Linked DNA regions of Homo sapiens: regions 1, 2, 3, 4, 5 and 6 are each linked to region 7. Evidence: promoter capture Hi-C in 16 types of primary human blood cells and fetal thymus (Javierre and others, 2016). All regions are on one chromosome and are shown on one strand. The core of a region is centred on a gene start or on the middle of the fragment in contact, and the rest is flanking DNA. Distances in the headings are between cores, read along the strand shown. Region 1 overlaps GFPT1 (glutamine--fructose-6-phosphate transaminase 1). Region 2 overlaps APLF (aprataxin and PNKP like factor). Region 3 has its middle 14 kb from the start of FBXO48. Region 4 overlaps APLF (aprataxin and PNKP like factor). Region 5 overlaps APLF (aprataxin and PNKP like factor). Region 6 overlaps APLF (aprataxin and PNKP like factor). Region 7 holds the start of GKN2 (gastrokine 2).

What was found. The method cuts DNA at HindIII sites, captures the fragments that hold promoters and counts their contacts. A CHiCAGO score of 5 or more calls a contact.
Region 1: a contact is called between a fragment that was not itself captured here and the fragment with the promoter of GKN2 in region 7, in 1 of 17 cell types (M1 macrophages). The highest score is 5.1, in M1 macrophages.
Region 2: a contact is called between a fragment that was not itself captured here and the fragment with the promoter of GKN2 in region 7, in 8 of 17 cell types (activated CD4 T cells, naive B cells, M0 macrophages and 5 more). The highest score is 8.5, in activated CD4 T cells.
Region 3: a contact is called between a fragment that was not itself captured here and the fragment with the promoter of GKN2 in region 7, in 9 of 17 cell types (activated CD4 T cells, naive CD4 T cells, total CD4 T cells and 6 more). The highest score is 17.4, in activated CD4 T cells.
Region 4: a contact is called between a fragment that was not itself captured here and the fragment with the promoter of GKN2 in region 7, in 6 of 17 cell types (activated CD4 T cells, naive CD4 T cells, non-activated CD4 T cells and 3 more). The highest score is 8.4, in activated CD4 T cells.
Region 5: a contact is called between a fragment that was not itself captured here and the fragment with the promoter of GKN2 in region 7, in 6 of 17 cell types (naive CD4 T cells, total CD4 T cells, naive CD8 T cells and 3 more). The highest score is 8.6, in naive CD4 T cells.
Region 6: a contact is called between a fragment that was not itself captured here and the fragment with the promoter of GKN2 in region 7, in 8 of 17 cell types (activated CD4 T cells, total CD4 T cells, total B cells and 5 more). The highest score is 10.5, in activated CD4 T cells.

The regions. Positions count from the first base shown.
Region 1 is chr2:69,347,754-69,350,453 of GRCh38, reverse strand. GFPT1 (glutamine--fructose-6-phosphate transaminase 1) reads left to right here. Exons shown (of 20, transcript NM_001244710.2): 10 at 271-376; 11 at 2,120-2,283. Among named protein-coding and RNA genes, the nearest start is that of GFPT1, 38 kb to the left of the region's middle. The HindIII fragment of the contact is 498 bases long and covers 1,041-1,538 here.
Region 2 is chr2:68,469,818-68,472,517 of GRCh38, reverse strand. All of the region lies in intron 1 of APLF (aprataxin and PNKP like factor), which reads right to left. Among named protein-coding and RNA genes, the nearest start is that of APLF, 3.6 kb to the right of the region's middle. The HindIII fragment of the contact is 2,738 bases long and covers 1-2,633 here.
Region 3 is chr2:68,451,767-68,454,466 of GRCh38, reverse strand. No RefSeq gene overlaps it. Among named protein-coding and RNA genes, the nearest start is that of FBXO48, 14 kb to the left of the region's middle. The HindIII fragment of the contact is 539 bases long and covers 1,127-1,665 here.
Region 4 is chr2:68,531,417-68,534,116 of GRCh38, reverse strand. All of the region lies in intron 6 of APLF (aprataxin and PNKP like factor), which reads right to left. Among named protein-coding and RNA genes, the nearest start is that of APLF, 65 kb to the right of the region's middle. The HindIII fragment of the contact is 2,573 bases long and covers 1-2,545 here.
Region 5 is chr2:68,509,194-68,511,893 of GRCh38, reverse strand. The region is part of intron 3 of APLF (aprataxin and PNKP like factor); the gene reads right to left. Among named protein-coding and RNA genes, the nearest start is that of APLF, 43 kb to the right of the region's middle. The HindIII fragment of the contact is 6,502 bases long and covers 1-2,700 here.
Region 6 is chr2:68,490,599-68,493,298 of GRCh38, reverse strand. The region is part of intron 2 of APLF (aprataxin and PNKP like factor); the gene reads right to left. Among named protein-coding and RNA genes, the nearest start is that of APLF, 24 kb to the right of the region's middle. The HindIII fragment of the contact is 4,870 bases long and covers 1-2,700 here.
Region 7 is chr2:68,951,587-68,954,286 of GRCh38, reverse strand. It overlaps GKN2 (gastrokine 2), which reads left to right and starts at 1,394. Exons shown (of 6, transcript NM_182536.3): 1 at 1,394-1,437. The coding sequence starts at 1,426. The HindIII fragment of the contact is 766 bases long and covers 790-1,555 here.

The DNA of each region.
Region 1 (2,700 bases), core at 40-2,539, 400 kb before region 7:
TGGAAAATAAATATTATATTAAAAAAACATATAATGTAGCACTTTTACCTGCCACGCACTCTTTGATAGTTGCTACTTCACTGTACACTTTTTGTCTGTTCTTATTGGCTTATTGCATGGAAATAAGGTGATCTACTTGGCTTTTTAAATTTGCTAAAATTGTTTTGTGTTGCTATGATTTTTTCTTGATTTTATAGAATATTATGCATATTTCTACATTGGACATGATTTTCTACATGTTTGCCAATTCATGTTAACTATATGCTTTAGGCAAAGACAAGAAAGGAAGCTGCAATCTCTCTCGTGTGGACAGCACAACCTGCCTTTTCCCGGTGGAAGAAAAAGCAGTGGAGTATTACTTTGCTTCTGATGCAAGGTGAGCTTCCTTAGTTGATTCAAAGAGATTTTTAGTAAAACTTCTCATTCTGCAGGAAACCCAAGAAGTCATTGTGTATCAGTCTAGTTGTGCTCTGTGAGATAACTTTTTAAATTAAAGAAATACAGGTGACCATTTTGGAGATGGGGCTGTAAGGACACTTTTTCTGTCATTTCAAAGTATGTGGGTCAGTTTACTAAGAACACATATACTGCTTGAGACTTGTTCCAGTGTATTTATTTTAGAGCTCTTACATTTTTTTCCTTCTTATTTCAGGAGCCTTATCCAGGTTTTGAAGGGAGGAGATTCTAGATTGAAGAGTAAAATGGCTTAGTTAGTATCCCAATAGTTATAGCATAGTTGCTAAACTATTGTAGTTTTAGTCTAATGTAGATACTCATCTTTTACATTTAGAATTAATTTGCAGCATAATCATTTTTATAAAGGGATAGTAGTAGACTAAGATATTTTGAGAGAAAATGCAGGGGGATGTTTACATGCATTTGTAAATGAAATAGTAATGAGGATAAAATAAAATCACCGAAATTGCAAACAAGTATTTGAGTCATCCACTGTACCTGAAAATAAGAGAAAATAATAAAAATAAGAAAATAATGCCATTTAGGACATCAGGGAATATATTATCTCAGTGGGAAAACAAGCTTTACTCTTTAATGTTTTTACAGGTGTGTAAGGTGTGTAGTCAGGGCTAAGATGTGTAAGATTACACAGTTGACAGTTATGGCTTAAATACACTGGAATTACAGAAACATATCAGCCTTTTCTCATTCATTTATACATTCATATTGAACACTGGGTGAAGTCATATGCTAGCGTCAGGAGATAATGGTGAGTAAAAATAAAAATATTACTTTTCCTTAGGAGCTCTTCCATAGTGAGGAGGCAAATTTTAAACAATGATCACAGAAGTGTAGAATTCCAGCTGTGACAAGAGCTGCAGAATGCTAGTAACAGAGTGATTTACCCTTGGTGGGTAAATTTCTTTAAGGGAATGATGTTTGAACTGAGAGTTAAGGAGAGATTAGGAGTTAATTAGGTTAACAGGTAGAGGGAGGAACATTCATTCTTTGCAAATGGCTCAGCCTGTGAGAGTTTAGGATGGCTTTGAGTGTGGCCAGAATAGAGAGAGTGAGAGGAAGCTTGGGGGGAGATGAAGCTGGAGAAGGAGGTATAGGGATTACGGTAAGGCACTTTGTTGTCTCTCTGAGAGCCAAAGGGAAACTGTCAAATGGTTTGTTGAGTGAAGGAGAAATCTTTATTAGAGTTGTTGCCTTTTGATATCAATTTTGGCAGAAATGGAGGATGGACGGAGAGAGATCAGAGAGAAAGTGGGTGGACTAATTGGGAGATCGCTGCAGTAGTCCACCCGAGGAGCTGATGGGAGCTTGAATTTGTCTGGTGGTGGACATAGAAACTAAGAATATTTGGAAGTTAAAATTTCAGGACTTGGTAATGGATAGAATGAGGAGGAAACAACCATGCTTTCTGATCTAATCTGTTTGGTTTAGATTGCTATGCAGAGTTCCTTTTATTTTTTGTCCACAATGACCACCTTCCCCATACTTTCCTGTAGGGGTTGGCATTAGTAACCAGAAAATTCTCTGAGATACTGCAGAGTGATAGAGTTTATATTGAAATTTGGTTCTTGTATCCAAATGATAGTTTCATTTGTAATAATGATCCTTGGTTATCGATTGTAATATCTCCTTGAAAACTTTATAGTGCTGTCATAGAACACACCAATCGCGTCATCTTTCTGGAAGATGATGATGTTGCAGCAGTAGTGGATGGACGTCTTTCTATCCATCGAATTAAACGAACTGCAGGAGATCACCCCGGACGAGCTGTGCAAACACTCCAGATGGAACTCCAGCAGATCATGAAGGGTGAAAGTTTTTGTCATGTTATAGCTTGCTGTCCTTACTGGAAAGAATATATTCTACTTCCTTTCCTAGCATATTAAATCTAGTAATGAATGATGAGTGGAATCTTCCACATGATTAGTGAAGGGACAACGCTAGGAAAAGGGATGATTCTTTAGAGAAATTATCTGCTGTTTTTACAATCGTCTTCAAACTAATTAATGATTTGTTATTTGTAACATTATAAAAAGGTTATTAACACTTGATACTTTAAAGATACTTTATAAACATAAAAATAGTTAATGTTCTGTTCCTTTTTATTCTCTTTGTGCTTTAGTTTTCTTATATATAACATGAGGATAATATAGCCTGCCTCATTAAGGTTGTTTTGAGGATTAAGAAGCTACTATATGGCTGGGTGCGGTGGCTCACACCTGTAAT
Region 2 (2,700 bases), core at 15-2,514, 480 kb after region 7:
TTTTTTATCTTGCCCAAATTCCTTTCTAAGGGGTCTGGGGAGTCATGCCCTACAAACCATAAATTCTCATCAGATGAGTTTTATTTAACCCTGTATAACGTGACTTACTTTCCAGTCTGACTCAGGCATAACAAGGAAGAAAATCAAAATGTTTTACCCTAAAATATATTTCTTTGCCATACCTTGGAACTGTCCTGCAAAGTCTCTTGTGGGAAAAACCCACATTCTATAGAGAATTCCCTTTCCCCTTTGTTTTCCTTCCTTCCTTTCCAGATCCAGGAGATAATCAATTAAGAGCCAGGCACTCTTTCAGGTCTCATAAGAAACATTTTACAACCTGCTATCTCTGAAGTCCGCTATCTGAGAGCTCTGCAAAATAAAACTTCGTCTCCACAATCCTTTATCTTAACCTGAACATTTCCTTTGATCTTAGGTCTTGAGATAAACTCAACTAATTGTCAACCAGAAAATGTTTAAATTTACCTATAGCCTGGAAGCCCCTGCTTTGGGTTGTCCTGCCTTTCTGAACCAAACCAATGTATTTCTTAAATGTATTTGATTGATGTCTCATGCCTCCCTAAAATATATAAAAACCAAGCTGTACCCTGACCATCTTGGGAACATGCTCTCAGGACCTCCTGAGGGCTGTGTCACGGGCCATGGTCACTCATATTTGGCTCAGAATAAATCTCTTGAAATATTTTATAGAATTTAACTCTTCATCAACAGACTCATGGTATTTAACCAAAACTTTTAATAAAAATGTGACCTTTTAAAAATCAGTGATTATATCTAAAAATTCAAATTTCTTACTATTCTTAAAAAAACAATATGACACTGTTACCAACTGGGAATAGGGGAAAGTAGCAGGGATTGCATAGAGACCCTCTCCTTGTGGCCTTCCCAACACTGAGGCAGAACTGTTGTCATTTATCACTGTCCCTGTGTTGTTTTTCTTCTTCCCTCCCACTTCGCTTACTCCAAGTGTCAGCCTGGCGCCAGTCCCCATGTGAGGTTGTAGCCTTATTTAGTTACTAATACTTGTTTATTTGTCTCTTAACCCTACAAAACTATAAGTTTCTTGAGAGCAAAGACTTGTTTCTCATTCACCTTTATTTCTCCTATACTCCCTCCCATCCAACCATAGTATATATTTATCAGCTATTTCCTGAATTTAGCGAATTATCAATCAACAAAACAGGAAAAATGTTAAAACTTAATTCATTATGAATGCTACTCAAGATTTAGCAGTTGGTAGGACTGCATCTTTACTATATTTAAATTCACTTCAAAACTCAATGATAACCCTTTTTCATATCTAAGTCACAATTAGGCTCTTTTTGAGGGTAGAGTGAATGAGAGGCTGAGATGCCGAAATGGAAGGAAGAAATCACGTGTTAAAGGCCTACTGTGTGCTAGGCACTGGTTGTAGGCTAAATAATAAAATGAGGGAAGGGCAAATCTAGAAATAAAAGAAACGTAAGGGAAGAAACCTATGTTGGAGCAGGTAGGAACAGCATTCCAGGACAGCCAGGATTCTGCAACAAGCAGTTAAAAGTATAGAGCTGCCAGGTCAGGGGATGGTTACTTTGTGTAAACTTTGTAGAACATTTACAACATTCTTAGAAGTGGTGAACTGATGCCACCTGAAGAGTCTATACTGAAGCCTATGACCTTCCCTGTTCCCCCAACTGAGGACTCTTCTCCTTTTAATCAAAGCAGTCAATTTAATTACATCTACATTGAGAAAGTATCACTAGATATCTTTTGCTATCTTGTTTCCTAGGAGGAAAATAGATCATAAAGAAATGTGTCATATAATCCCTGCTGTCAAAACAAAATAAGAAAAATCTGAAATCAGAAATAGTAGATTTCATTTAAGAGTGTAACAGCTTTAATTAAAACCCATAAAGCAAATACTTTGGCCTAACAGTGCTTGACATGTCGTACTGTAAAACCCTTTTAAATTAAATTTCTTAAGATAATGGTAGATTCACATGTAGTTGAAAGATATAATATAGAAATATCTCTTGTACCATTTATCCAGTTTCCCCTAATGGTAACGTCTTACAAAACTATAGTACAATATATCAACCTAAGATATTGATACTGACACAGTCCAGACAAAGCACATTTCTATCACCACAAATATCCCTCATGTTGCTATTTTATAGCCATATCCATTCCCTTCTGCCCTGCTGCCTAATTTTTTAACCTTTGGCAACCACTAATCTGTTCTCCATTTTTGAAATTTTGCAATTTCGCAATTTCAATGATGTTATATAAATGGAATCACACAATATGTAATCTTTTGGATTGGCTGTTTTAACTCAAGTTCTCTGAAGATTAATCCTGCTGTAAAACCTTCTAACTGATGCCAATCATGGAGCAGAATCAAAATCTAGTAAACAAAGACCTGGGGTTCTCTGATGACTCACATGAAAGCAAAGGGAACAAGAAAGATTAAATTTCATTGTCCTTTGTTCTCTGTGACAGGTTTCTCTGTTGTGTTTTCCTACCACCATAAAAATACAAAACCATTCTCATTGTCAAACTGTTTTACTACCAAGACTATTTTACACAGTCAGATTATAAACTTTTATGTTTGTGTGGCCATCAAGGTTTGTGAAGCTTGTCTCAGAAAAACATGCCCAATTAAGAAAGTTCAAAATCATCCTTATTTATATTAATCGTTTCCGA
Region 3 (2,700 bases), core at 147-2,646, 500 kb after region 7:
TAAACACTGTTCTAGATTCTCTAAAGGGAATAATTTGGAATTAAAAAGACCTTTTTCTTCCTCAAGTGCCTCTATCATTTTGTTGTGCCAACTGAAGAATCACGAGGTTCATGAATGTGGAAAGGAGAGCTTTATTTCTTATAAAGGGTTGCAGCCTGCAGGCTGGCCATCCCACAGCCTGGGAAGGGTAGCTTCTGGCAGAAACCAGAAGCAGGTACTTCTAGGGAGGGAAGGGTAAGACAGGAATTTAGGCTGAAAGGGTCAGCTAAGTATATACATTTAACAGGCTATAGGAGGAGCTATGAATATTCACAAAAGGGGAGTGCACTCATGCACAGCAAGCTAACATGTATGTTACCTACATCCTATGTTCACTTTAGGATGGAAACTTAACATTTAAATGTATTAAAATTAGGCTCTATACGTCAAAAGCTGAAACAGAGGACACAGAAGCATCCTGTGTGCAGCTTCTGTAAACCGGCCAGAACCAGTCCATGGTTAGTGGCCTCTTATCAGGAAGGAATGATGGTCAGTTGTTGTGTCAAACTGCAAAAAGGAAGAAGAGTCCAGCAAGTCTTCAGAAAGGGCCTGTTTCTGTTTAACACTTAGGAGTGGAAGTATAATGGCAAGTAGCAAGGGAGGGAGTATAACAGGGCATGTCTGACCTCCCAATCCATCATGGCTGGGAATTCAGCTTTTAAGATTTCTCTAGGATCTCCTTAGCCAAGAGGGGAGTCCTTTTAGTCAGTTGCAGGGGGGACCTTTGGATTTTATTTTCGTTTCTCAGTTGAAAGCCTAGCAGTTAAGACTTCTGAGTCTTCTATGCTTGAAAAAAGTCTTTTGAAATTCAAAGCTGAGTTCTGACTTCTTTATTCTCGGCTGTACCTACCAGACCCACAAAGCACTGGATGCCTGTCTTTCCAGGCAGAGAGCTGCAGAGAAATAAGAATTACTGGGCATGGAAAATACAGCGGAATGTATTACAAAAAAAAAACAACCCATTCTAGTATTACTCTACACAATAAAATAATGCTGGAAAAGGAAGAAAGAGTAAAAACTATAAAGAACAGCTGAGACAGAAGAAGGTAATAAACAAGGCATGCGGGTTGGGTTTCTAATAAAAGCTTGACATCCTTATATTGAGTTCTACCACAAGTAAAACTGACTTTTTTCATGAACCTGTTTGCATTTTCCAATACCTCCTTGTCCTTACCCAGTCAGGGCCGGATGGAAATAAAAAAAGATAAAACTGCAGTTTTACAAGTACCACACCAATCATACTGTATTATCATAAACATTAACTGCTCAAGAAAAAATTTTTCTTAATTAATTAATTTAGTTATTTATTTTTAGAGACTGGGTCTCACTATGTTGCCCAGGCTGGCCTCGAACTCCTGAGCTCAAGCAATCCTCTCCCCTCAACCTCCCAAAGTGCTGGAATTACAAGCATGAACCACTGTTCTGGCCCAAAAGAAATTTTTAATAATCATTTTCTGAGGCCTACTTTTCTGCTATGGGTCTTCTGTGCCTTGTAGGGGAAAAAAACCCAGCTGCTGGTTTCCCAGTTTGCTCATTTTGATTTACTTTTAATATGACAAAATTATACAGTCCATTTGTCACACAATGAAATCCTGATAGAAAATATGTAAAACCATAAAAGAAGCTTTCTAAAAATCACACGTGAGAATCTCCCCCACTTATTGCTGTGGTTGTGTTTTTTTGTTGCCTAACAAGTAGATTGAGCACAATTTCCTGTCTTTATTCTCATTGGTTAGTGAAGAAAATAAAAAGGACTGCTTTTGCCATTGTTTTCCTGTGTATGGCCTACTTTTTTCATCAGTTCAACTTTTTTTTTTCTCTCTCAGACTTTTATTATATATTTTTAAACGTGCTTTCTCCCTAAATGTTTTATTTTGAAAGTTTTCACTCTTACAAAAAATTTCAAAGTCTAGAATATGGCATCATCACCTAGATTAACCAATTGTTAACTTTAACCATGTGTGCTTTATCTCTGTCTATACCAGGTCCCTAAACTTTATCACTATTAACATTCTGGGCTGGATAATTCTTTGTTTGGGGGAGGGGCAGGGGTGCTGTCGTATACACTGTAGAATGTTTAGCAGCACCGCTGGCCTCTATTCATTAGATGCCAGTAGCACCACTTCCCAAGTGCTGGCAACCAAAAATGTCGCCAGACATTGCCAAATGTCTCCTGGGGGAAAATCCCTCTTGTTAGGAACTACTGGTTTATACTACATTTTAAAAAAACACCTAAATGTCCATCAACCAAGAAGAGTGGATAAAGAATAGATATCTATAATATGTATATTTATATATAATATATATTATATATTTTATATATAATATATATAATTTATATATAATATATAATATATATTTTATATATTATATATTATATATATTATATATAAAATATATATTTAATATAATATATAATATAATATATATATATTTTATATAATATATAATATATATATTTTATATAATATATAATATATAATATATAAAATATATATTTAATATAATATATAATATATTATATATAATATGTAATATATAATATATAATATATTATATATAATATGTAATATATAATGTATATTATATATTATAATATATAATATATATTATATAATATACATTATATATAATATATATTATATATAATATACATTATAT
Region 4 (2,700 bases), core at 10-2,509, 420 kb after region 7:
GATCCAAGCAAGAAGTCCTACAATTTTATTCCTGAATACTTTTATAATCCAATACTTCTTACCATCCTTAAAGTCACTGCCCTAGTTTAGATTCTCTATTTCTTCACTTTGTTAATGCCACAATCTCTTCCCTTACCTCCAAGTCTTTTATCTTGTTCTTTTCCAATCTCTCCTCTAGTGAGCTGCCAGGATTACCTCTGTGACTGAAAACATTTCAAGGGCCCTTCTCTATGAACTGGTCACACTGCTGTCTTCACCCTATGAGACCTGGTAACTTGCTCTGACCAAAAGAATTCAGCAAAAATTACAATTCCAGTTCTAGGCCTTAAAAGATCTAACAGCTTTGACATCACTCTCTTGGGGCCCAGATGTCAGGTGAAGATGCTCAGTCTAGGCTACTTCATGGTACAGGGAGGGAGGTGGGCCCAGCCAGCCCCCAGCCATTCCATCAACCTTTGCTGAGGCACCATTCACACGAGTAAAGCTATCACAGATGCTTCATCTTCAGCTGAGTTCTCAGCTGAATGAAGCCCAGCTGACACCAAAAACATGTCATAAAAGAATTGCCCAGCTGACCCCAGCCAACCCACACAATTATAAGGCAGAATATAATCATAATCACTGACATGATCATGTTGTGTTAAGCCACTAAGAGTTGGAGTAGCTTGTTTCACAGCAATAGACAGTTAAAACACTTTACCATACTATTTTCGCTTATGTTGTTTCAGTTAGGCTTCCTTCTGTCATTTACAAGAGTTCTCATTAGATTATAATATAATATAGATTATAAAGGAAATACATAGTCTGTTTTGTAGCTGTGATAACAGAATATCACAAACTTGAAAATTTATAAAGAACAGAAATTTATTATCTCACAGTTGTGGGGTCTGGGAAGTCCAAGATCAAGGCACCAGCATCTGGTGTGAGGCTCCTTACTGCATTCTTACATGAGGGAAGGTGGAAGGGCATGAAAGGATGAATGCTGTGCCCTTATATGGCAGAAGAGTGAAAGAGTGTAAACCCACTTCTACAAGCCAAGCCCCCGACCTTTTTTTTAGAGATGAGGTCTCCTTACGTCACCCAGGCTGGCCTTAAACTCCTGGGCTTAAGCAGTCCTCCTGCTTCAGCCTCCCAAGTAGCTGGGACTACAGGTGCATGTCACTGCATCCAGCTTCACAATCCCTTTTTATAGCAGCATTATCCATTCATGAGCACAGAGCCCTCATAACCTAAACAGCCTCCCATTAGGCCCACCTCCCAATACTGTTGCTCTGAGGATTAAGTTTCAACATAAATCTTTAGAGGAGATAAAAACACTCAAACCATGGCAACCATCCTTTTCACTAAAGTTAATCAATTCAAGTACCCTCATTTTCACATCTAAATTAGAAAGTCACATAACTGGGAAGGAGTTGTAGAAAGACATACAAGAACTGATGAAAAATATAGACTATTTCTGACAACTGTCTTATGAAGAGAAGTTACTACAGTCACAAAACTCTTTACATAGTCTAATACGTATGGTAGAAAAATTCATTATACCCAAAATGAAAATACCTACATTTGAAGCCAAGTTTCCTAACAATGTGACCTTGGGCCTCAGTTTCCTCTGAGGTGTTCAATGATGATACAACAGTAGCTCTTAATTTTGAAGGGACACTAAAATTGGGAGAGTTTAAGATACCACTGATGCACAGGCTCCACACACCAAATGAATCAGAATCTCAGAAACAAGGTCTAGTTGGGCATAAGTGATTTTTGTCCCTTCTCTCCACTGATTCTCCTACTTTTCCCTAAGAGAATGTAATTCTTTCCAAGTAGATTGATCCAAATGTAGGCCTGGCCAAACTGTTGTTAGTTTTTTGTAGCTGGCAACCTCCTGCCATTAGAATAGATAGGTGAACCTAGCCTCTTGTTTTCTCTCTCACCTGCTCTGCACTACAGCTATCCCTTTAGGACTAGCTGTTCTAAAGGTTCAGTGTTCAGACTCAAACTGGGCAGGGATGGAGGGTGGGGTTTGGAAAGGCTCTGCTGGGATTTTCAGTCTAAGTCATATTCTCTGGCTCAGCTTTACCAGAGAGCCCTGCATAAAGGATCATGAAAATTTAAGCCTTATTTTTCCTGTGCTAGAAGAGGTAAATCTTCCTCACAAGGAAGGGAAGGAAAAGCAACTGGCCAAATAGAACTTGGGCATTCCTCGGACCTGGTTGTAATACTCCCTTGATGTCATCAAAACCTCACAAATAGCTTGAATATCTTGGATCTGCTCCTCTCTATAATCTATCAATTAAGATGTTTCTCAAAGTTTTTCTTGTGATTATCAAACCTTATGGGTTGGGATAAACAGAGGAAAACACGTATACTACAGATTTTCTTCTGAACACAATAATTTCTCTTGAAAAAAGGCAACGTCAATTGACATGTTCAGAGTTCAGAGAATAGAGTACATAAGGGCTCAAAGTTTATACAAAACAAATTTTGTTTTAATAAGTTTTATGGAAAATATATGTGAGCCAGAAAACATTTTGTTTTCATTTATTAAGCTTGCCTCCATAAGTAAAGCAAAGGAACTGAGTGTATAGCGACCAGGCCCCACTTCTGTAGCTGGAAGACAGGCTCCAGTGAGAAGCTGGTTCCTCTCTCTGGGAGAGAGGGTAGGAGTGAGGAGAATATATTCGAAGACTAACCTCTAAGGTAGAT
Region 5 (2,700 bases), core at 158-2,657, 440 kb after region 7:
CAGCCAAAAGAGAAAATTTACTTAGAGTAAATTACTATGCAGCATCACATTTTTTGTTCATTCAATCAATATTTTTAAAACTTCTACTGTGTGTCAAACACTGTGCCAGGTGCTGGAGACATATCTTGGAAATGTCTGATTGTCCTAGCTATGAAAGTTCACTCCACTACAATACCCAGTCCTGTTTTACTCACAGGTTACAGGTGTACTTCCAAATTATAATTTTTTTCAAGTTTTCTTAATATTTAACATGAAAAATATTAAGAAACATTCAATAGTAGTTTGATGATTTTTCACAATTTATAGTATTAGGAATTAAGTAACATCATCAATTCCATTTCTAGTTTATTTTCTATTGTGGCATAAGTCTGAGATGAATTCATATACACTCTATAGTCCATATGTAATTTTTATTAATAGTTACCCACAATAAACGTAACAAAAAAAATTTCAGAACAAAATTCTATTTAACATTTTATTCAAAAAGTACAAGTACAAATTATTCTACTACACATTTATTTAAATATAAAACACTGTCACTGTGATATATATTTTTATTTTATCTTCAAATACATCTATGAGTAATCAACTATCACAGGATTTATAAAGCATCACTACAGAATATTTTAAATAAAAAATTAAAACTTGGAAAGTTAAATGTAGTCTAGTAAAGGTAATTGAGTTATCCTTTTTTATAACTGCTTTATTGAAAAATAATCCATATAGTCATAAGATTCATCCTGTTAAAGTGTACTATCCAGTGGTTATTAGTATGTTAACAGAGTTGTGCAACTATCACCAATATCTAATTTTAGAACATATTCAACACCTCAAAAAGAAATTCCATATGCATTAGCAATCTCTTCCTATTGCCTCTTCCTCCTGCTCCTCGCAACCATTAATCTACCTTCTGTCTCCAAAGATCACATTTTCTACATATTTCATATAAATGAAATACAGTATGTGGTCTTTCGTGTCTAGCTTTTTTACTTAGCATAATGTTTCAAGATTCACCTGTGTTGTAGCATATGTAAATATTTCATTCCTCTTTATGGCCAAATAATATTCTACTGTATGACTATACAATACTTGTTTATCTATTCAACAGTTGCTGGACAGCTGAGTTATTTCCACTTTTTGGCTATTATGAATAATGCTGCTGTGAACATCTATGTACAAGTTTTGATGTGGACATAGGTTTTCAATTCTTTTGGGTATATACATAGGAGTGGAAATGCTGAGCCACACAGTAATTCCATGTTTAAACTTTTGAGGAACTGCCAGAATATGTTCCAAAGAGGCTATACCATTTTATAATCCCACCACAATGTATAATAGTTCAGTTTCTTCACAACCTCACCAACACTTGTTATTATATTTTTGATTATAGCTTTCCTAGTAGATGTAAAGTGGTATCTCATTGCGGTGTTAATTTGCATTTCCCTGTGACTAGTGATGTTGAACATTTTTTCATGTTCTACTGACCACCTGTACACCTTCTTTGGAAAAATGTCTATTCAAATCAGTTATGCATTTTAAAATTGGGTTGTTTGCCTTTGCATTGTTGAGGATTCTTTAGATATTCTGAATATAAGTCTGTTATATGTGATTTACAAATATTTTCTCATTCTGTGGTTGTCTTTTCACTTTCTTTTTTTGTATATTATTATTTTTTTATTATACTTTAAGTTCTAGGGTACATGTGCGCAACATGCAGGTTTGTTACATATGTATACATGTGCCATGTTGGTGTGCTGCACCCATTAACTCGTCATTTACATTAGGTGTATCTCCTAATGCTATCCCTCCCCCCTCCCCCCACTCCACAACAGGCCCTGGTGTGTGATGTTCCCCTTCCTGTGTCCAAGTGTTCTCATTGTTCAATTCCCACCTATGAGTGAGAACATGCAGTGTTTGGTTTTTTGTCCTTGCGATAGTTTGCTGAGAATGATGGTTTCCAGCTTCATCCATGTCCCTACAAAGGACATGAACTCATCCTTTTTTATGGCTGCATAGTATTCCATGGTGTATACATGTCACATTTTCTTAACCCAGTCTATCATTGATGGACATTTGGGTTGGTTCCAAGTCTTTGCTATTGTGAATAGTGCTGCAATAAACATACGTGTGCATGTGTGTTTATAGCAGCATGAGTTATATTCCTTTGAGTATATACCCAGTAATGGGATGGCTGGGTCAAATGGTATTTCTAGTTCTAGATCCCTGAGGAATCGCCACATTGTCTTCCACAGTGGTTGAACTAGTTTACAGTCCCACCAACAGTGTAAAAGTGTTCCTATTTCTCCACACCCTCTCCAGCACCTGTTGTTTCCTGACTTTTTAATGATCACCATTCTAACTGGTGTGAGATGGTATCTCATTGTGGTTTTGACTTGCATTTCTCTGATGGCCAGTGATGATGAGCATTTTTTCATGTGTCTGTTGGCTGCATAAATGTCTTGTTTTGAGAAGTGTCTGTTCATATCTTTCACCCACTTTTTGATGGGGTTGTTTTTTTCTTATAAATTTGATTGAGTTCTTTGTAGATTCTGGATATTAGCCCTTTGTCAGATGAGCAGATTGCAAAAATTTTCTCCCATTCTGTAGGTTGCCTGTTCACTCTGATGGTAGTTTCTTTTGCTGTGCAGAAGCTCTTTAGTTTAATGAGATCCCATTTGTCAATTTTGGCTTTTGTTACCA
Region 6 (2,700 bases), core at 149-2,648, 460 kb after region 7:
ACTGATAAAAACTCCTCTTCCCCACTGATACGCAATGCTAGCCCTGGCCCAGTCAAATTTCCACATACATAAGTCCAAATCTAAGGTTGCTTTCAGTTCTAAAATATTATTCAACTGAAGGCACTAAAACTTCTTGTTAAGACAGATCATCAATTAGTTGTAACTTGAAGAAATTTTTTTAAAGAAAAGACACCCAATGCCAAGAGAATCCTGACTTCAGAAACATAACAACAACAAAAAAATACTACAGAGTTCAAAGAACCTGGGCTCTCATTCCCATTCTAGAATTTGCTGAGTATTTAAGATCAGACGTTCTCCAGAAGGCTATGACATTCTAAGTTGTCAAAAAAAGGTACTCGAAAAAGGATAAAAAAGAGCTACCTTTCTCCCATGTCTAAACATCACATTTATGGGAAAGTTTACAAAATTACACTAAATAATATTTAAAAGATCATAAACAGAGGTATAACTTAAATAAATCATTCCAAATTTTAGTTTTATATCTAGTGGTCATGAGGAATTTTTGCTCTAGCTTCTAGTATTATTTCTACTACAGTTTTGTGCTCAAAAGACACCTGTTAATGTCATACATAGTGGTTTTATGATCTGCGTACCATCTAATTAAAGACCCAGTAAAAGTGAAGAGTATTTTAAAAAGGAGCCTTTTTATAACTGAACACTGCTAAAATCTCACATAGAAATTTGGCTCAGTACATACTGGATAAAATTTAACTCAAGGTAAGATTTTCAACTAATAAAATCACCTTTAATTTGGGCATATTTATTTTACATTATTAGTACTCTTTTTTTGTTTGTTTTTTGAGGCGGAGTCTCGTTCTGTCGCCCAGGCTGGAGTGCAGTGGCACAATCTCGGCTCACTGCAAGCTCCGCCTCCCGGGTTCACGCCATTCTCCTGCCTCAGCCTCCAGAGTAGCTGGGACTACAGGCGCCCACCACCGTGCCCGGCTAATTTTTTGTATTTTTAGTAGAGACGGCGTTTCACCGTGTTAGCCAGGATGGTCTCGATCTCCTGACCTCGTGATCCACCCACCCCGGCCTCCCAAAGTGCTGGGATTACAGACGTGAGCCACCGCGCCCAGCCTTATTAGTACTCTTTTGAATAGCCACAAAAGTACAAAATATATCTGAATAATTTTCAGCCAAGTATAGACACAACTCCAACTAAGCACCTTTATTAAAGCCAATTTATAAAACATTTTAAAATATAAATGTCCTTGATTAACACTGAGAAAAAATGTAAATGTTTAAAATATTCATGCATTAGTAAATATGACGGTTTTCTAATCACCTATTTTTGATATAAAAAAATTTAATGCCATGTCAATTTTGTTATAAGAAGGGTTTCTTCTTATCATTGAGTAAACAAAGAGTGTAAAGAGAAAATCTGATATCTATTGAGTTGTCCACAATTCCACTGGTTAATTTGTTCACAAAATAAATGTGCTGACATGGACACAGTGGCAGAGCAGACACTGGAGACTCAGAAGGGTGGTAGTGTGAGAGGTGGGACAGGGTTGAGAAATTACCTAATGGGTACAATGTACACTATTCAGGTGACGGTTACACTAAAAGCTCAGATTTCACCATTTCACAATATAATCATGTAACAAAACTGCACTGCACTCCCTAAATCTATATAAATAAAAAATAATCATTTCTATATTTCAAGATCCCTCTATTCTTTCCTTTAATGTGCTTTAGTAACAACAAAAAAACTTATTTTAGGCCATGGTAGTTCATTGGCAGGGTATTAGAAATTGGGCACTAGAGAATAACATACTTTTGTAAAAATCTACCATGTTCCCACTCCTAGATATGCCATAGATAGTTCTCACCACAGCGTTTACTCATGCATTCAACAAATATTAATTAAATACCTACTATGTCTTAGGCACTATGCTAAACACTAGGGATACAAAGATTAGTCAGAGTTCCTACACTCAAGGGCCTTATGATCCAGTATGTCATCTCAGAAGAATAAGATAGCTGGAGAGGATACAGAGATGAATATCTAATGGTAAATACAGTGGCTCCTAAAGAAGTGTTGACTCCAGATATTAACACTTTTTCAAGACAATAAGATAATGCAGAATGAAGATGAGACATAAACTCTTTTAAAGATTATTTATTCAAGGTTGAGATAAGGTGAATACATTGAATAATTTTTTATTCAAAAAATTTCCAAGTACTAAAATTAAAAAGATGCTTTCCAAATTTGCAAACAGTTAAACATAGGATAATAAAAGCAAGTACTATCTGTGTAAAAGAAAGAACTAATGATTTAACAGGCAGTGGTATATAAAATATGAAAATACAAATTGGTTTTAAAAAGTTATAAATTAATGAATTCCATGAAATTTTACCACCATACGATCTAGTCTAAAATAAATGGACCCTTATGTACGTATTTCATTCTCTTACACAATAGACTCTGCAAATGAAAAGGAATAATCACATTGTATATTCTTGGAAACTGGCTGTCCCTGCATATCATCAGTGATTTCGCAGCAGTAAACTATAAAGCAAGCAATTAAAATTCGAGCCCTCAACAAAAACTTTCAAATTAAAATCATTTTTCAAACCTCGAAGTTGAACAAAGTCTAAGTTTTAGAAATATTCAACTCTATACAGAGTGATAGAGAATATGTTAAAATATAACCCTATAACATTTAAGTTACT
Region 7 (2,700 bases), core at 145-2,644:
GTTTTACATCCACCCCCACTGAACAGCCAGGGTAGGGAGATTCCAGTGAACTAGGTAACCCTTAACTTGCCCAGATGTCTACTTTTTGAGAACCCCATTTTTGTTTAAAGCTGCTAAAGTTAGAAAGTTGTTTCAGCTATAGAACAAGGCCATTATTTATGTTATCTCTTTGTTTACTGTGGTGATTCTCAATATTTTACAATTTTGCAATTTACTGGGGTTTTTTGTTTTGTTTTGTTTTGAGATGGAATCTTGCTCTATCACCCAGGCTGGAGTGCAGTGGCATGATCTTGGCTCACTGCAACCTCTGCCTCCCGGGTTCAAGCAATTCTCCTGCCTCAGCCTCCTGAGTAGCTGGGACTACAGGCGAGCACCATCACGCCTGGCTAATTTTTTTGTACTTTTAGTAGAGACGGGGTTTCACCATAGTAGAGACGGGGTTTCACCATGTTGTCCAGGCTGGTCTCAAACTTCTGACCTCAGGTGATCTGCCCGCCTTGGCCTCCCAAATTGCCGGGGTTACAGGCATGAGCCACTGCGCCCAGCCGCAGTTTATTGTTTTTGTTGTTGTTGTTGTTTGTTTTGTTTTTAAATTTCCCTTCCTGAGTTCATGATTATACCCTGACACTAACTAGCCATTTCTAATTGTCATGTTAAAAAAATTACACAAATTAAACTTTATTCTCTTTCTCTCTCTTTTTTTTTTTTTTCAATCTAAGAATTTCTTAATACTCTGCAAGATAACTAGAGGTCTCTAACTTACAGTTTTGTGCAGTTTTGGGCGAAGCTTAATGTAAAAATTTGGTTAAACTTGGTAATTGGGGAGAATGCTTTCTGAGTCTTGTTCCTCATTAATTTCTGGAAATTGACACCAAATCTAAAGGGAAGAACGAAGAAAGTCCTAGGCTGTTTGTTCTCCAAGCAGGCCTCCCCAGCCACTGTCTTGGCACCCCGTCTCATATCCGTTCCCTCTGTGGAAGAATTCAGCCAGCAGAACAGTGGTGAAAAGACATTGAGTTGGGGCCCAACTCAGGCCTTAAGGAAGCACTCTTCCTTTAGGAGGAGATGTTAGAAGTTTGTCCTTGTAGAGCTATAAAATGTATGCATAGAACAAGCATCATGCAATATTTTTAAAGGGTGGAAATTAAAATGTCAAGTGCAGCATAGTACAAATAGCAGGGAATATTTACAGAGTGACCAAGTGGTGAATTTTCATTACTGACTAATGAACTTCATTGATATCAGGTATGTGGTTGGATCTCAATTCTGATAAAGGAGTTTGCTAGGGTGTGTCAGAGATATAGACATGGTCTTTTCCAAAGTGATCATTTGAAAAAGAGATATCCACATCTTCAAGCCCATATAAAGGATAGAAGCTGCACAGGGCAGCTTTACTTACTCCAGCACCTTCCTCTCCCAGGCAAAATGAAAATACTTGTGAGTATTTGTTTCTGCTTCTTGATACTCTTGTGGTGACTGCTTGCAGACAATGCTCATATCTAATATGCCATGGATTTTGGGAGTCTTAGACAGATACTGTGCATGCTTCTAAGCTTCTGTGATTGAATTAATGACATCTTTGGCAGAAATAGTGTTGAATAAGTCTGACTTTTTTTGTCCTTTTCCTGTTTTGAGATGTTTACTTAAAAGAAAATTCAAAAATACAAAGAAATCTCTAGATAATTTTGATTTGGAGGATGTTTAATAATAATCCTTTATTATGAGCTTCATAGGGAATTTGGGCTATTTAAAACAACTACATTTGCTATCTAAGAGAGAAGCTGTAGTTTAAAAATAATATCAGTAATAGTAATAATAGTACCTCTCATTTCTCAAATGCATACTAAGCCTTAGACTAAGCATATCACATGAATAATTTCATCTATTCATTGCAACAACCCTATGAGTTGAGTAGTATTCTCCCCGTTTTACAGATAAGGAGACTGAGAGGCAGAGGAATGTGATTTTCCCAAGCCCGTAAATGTGGGATTTAGAATGTAATTTATCCATCTGAATCCCCACTTGCAGGCGCAATCATGGCAAATTTAAGCAGCCAGAGTGTCTTCAATGTCCTCTCATTATGACTAAATTCTCCCTTAGGACAAAACGTTCCTTCTATGGCCACTCCACCCCTCCATCTGATCCCAGCCTCCGTAGTTCCACATTGCAGTGCCCCATGGACAGTGGGCTATGTTCTGACCTAGAATGGAATTCGCTCCCCTAGTCTCTGTCCTTTATTCTCATTCAGCTGCTAAGGGAGAAAGCAAAATGTTAAGTACCTCTTTCTAAAGTGTTAAAGACTATCAGCTTAAAGAGCTCCCTCTCTCAGGGCTGTCTTGATTTTCCAAATTGAGACCTAACCCTGAAGCACAAAAGTATTATATAACCATGGTGTATTAACCACAGTGTTGGAAGGGAGATCATTTTGGGGCAGAGGACACTCCCCAAGCTCTCTCTAATCATACCATTAAAGTGGTTTAGTCCTTCGACTACTTGTTCAAACCACTATTTTAGACTCATTAACTAGAATATACGGGAGTATCATATGTTGCTGGAGCTGGTCTGTGGTAAGAGAAGATGTATCCCTATGGAAGGCTGAATATCAGCACACAGGTCTTTGTTAGATGCTCTACTCCCAGTCCCCAGAAGAGAAATATTAAGGGTGGGATGGAAAGGGAAGTAGGAAAGTCCCACTGACAG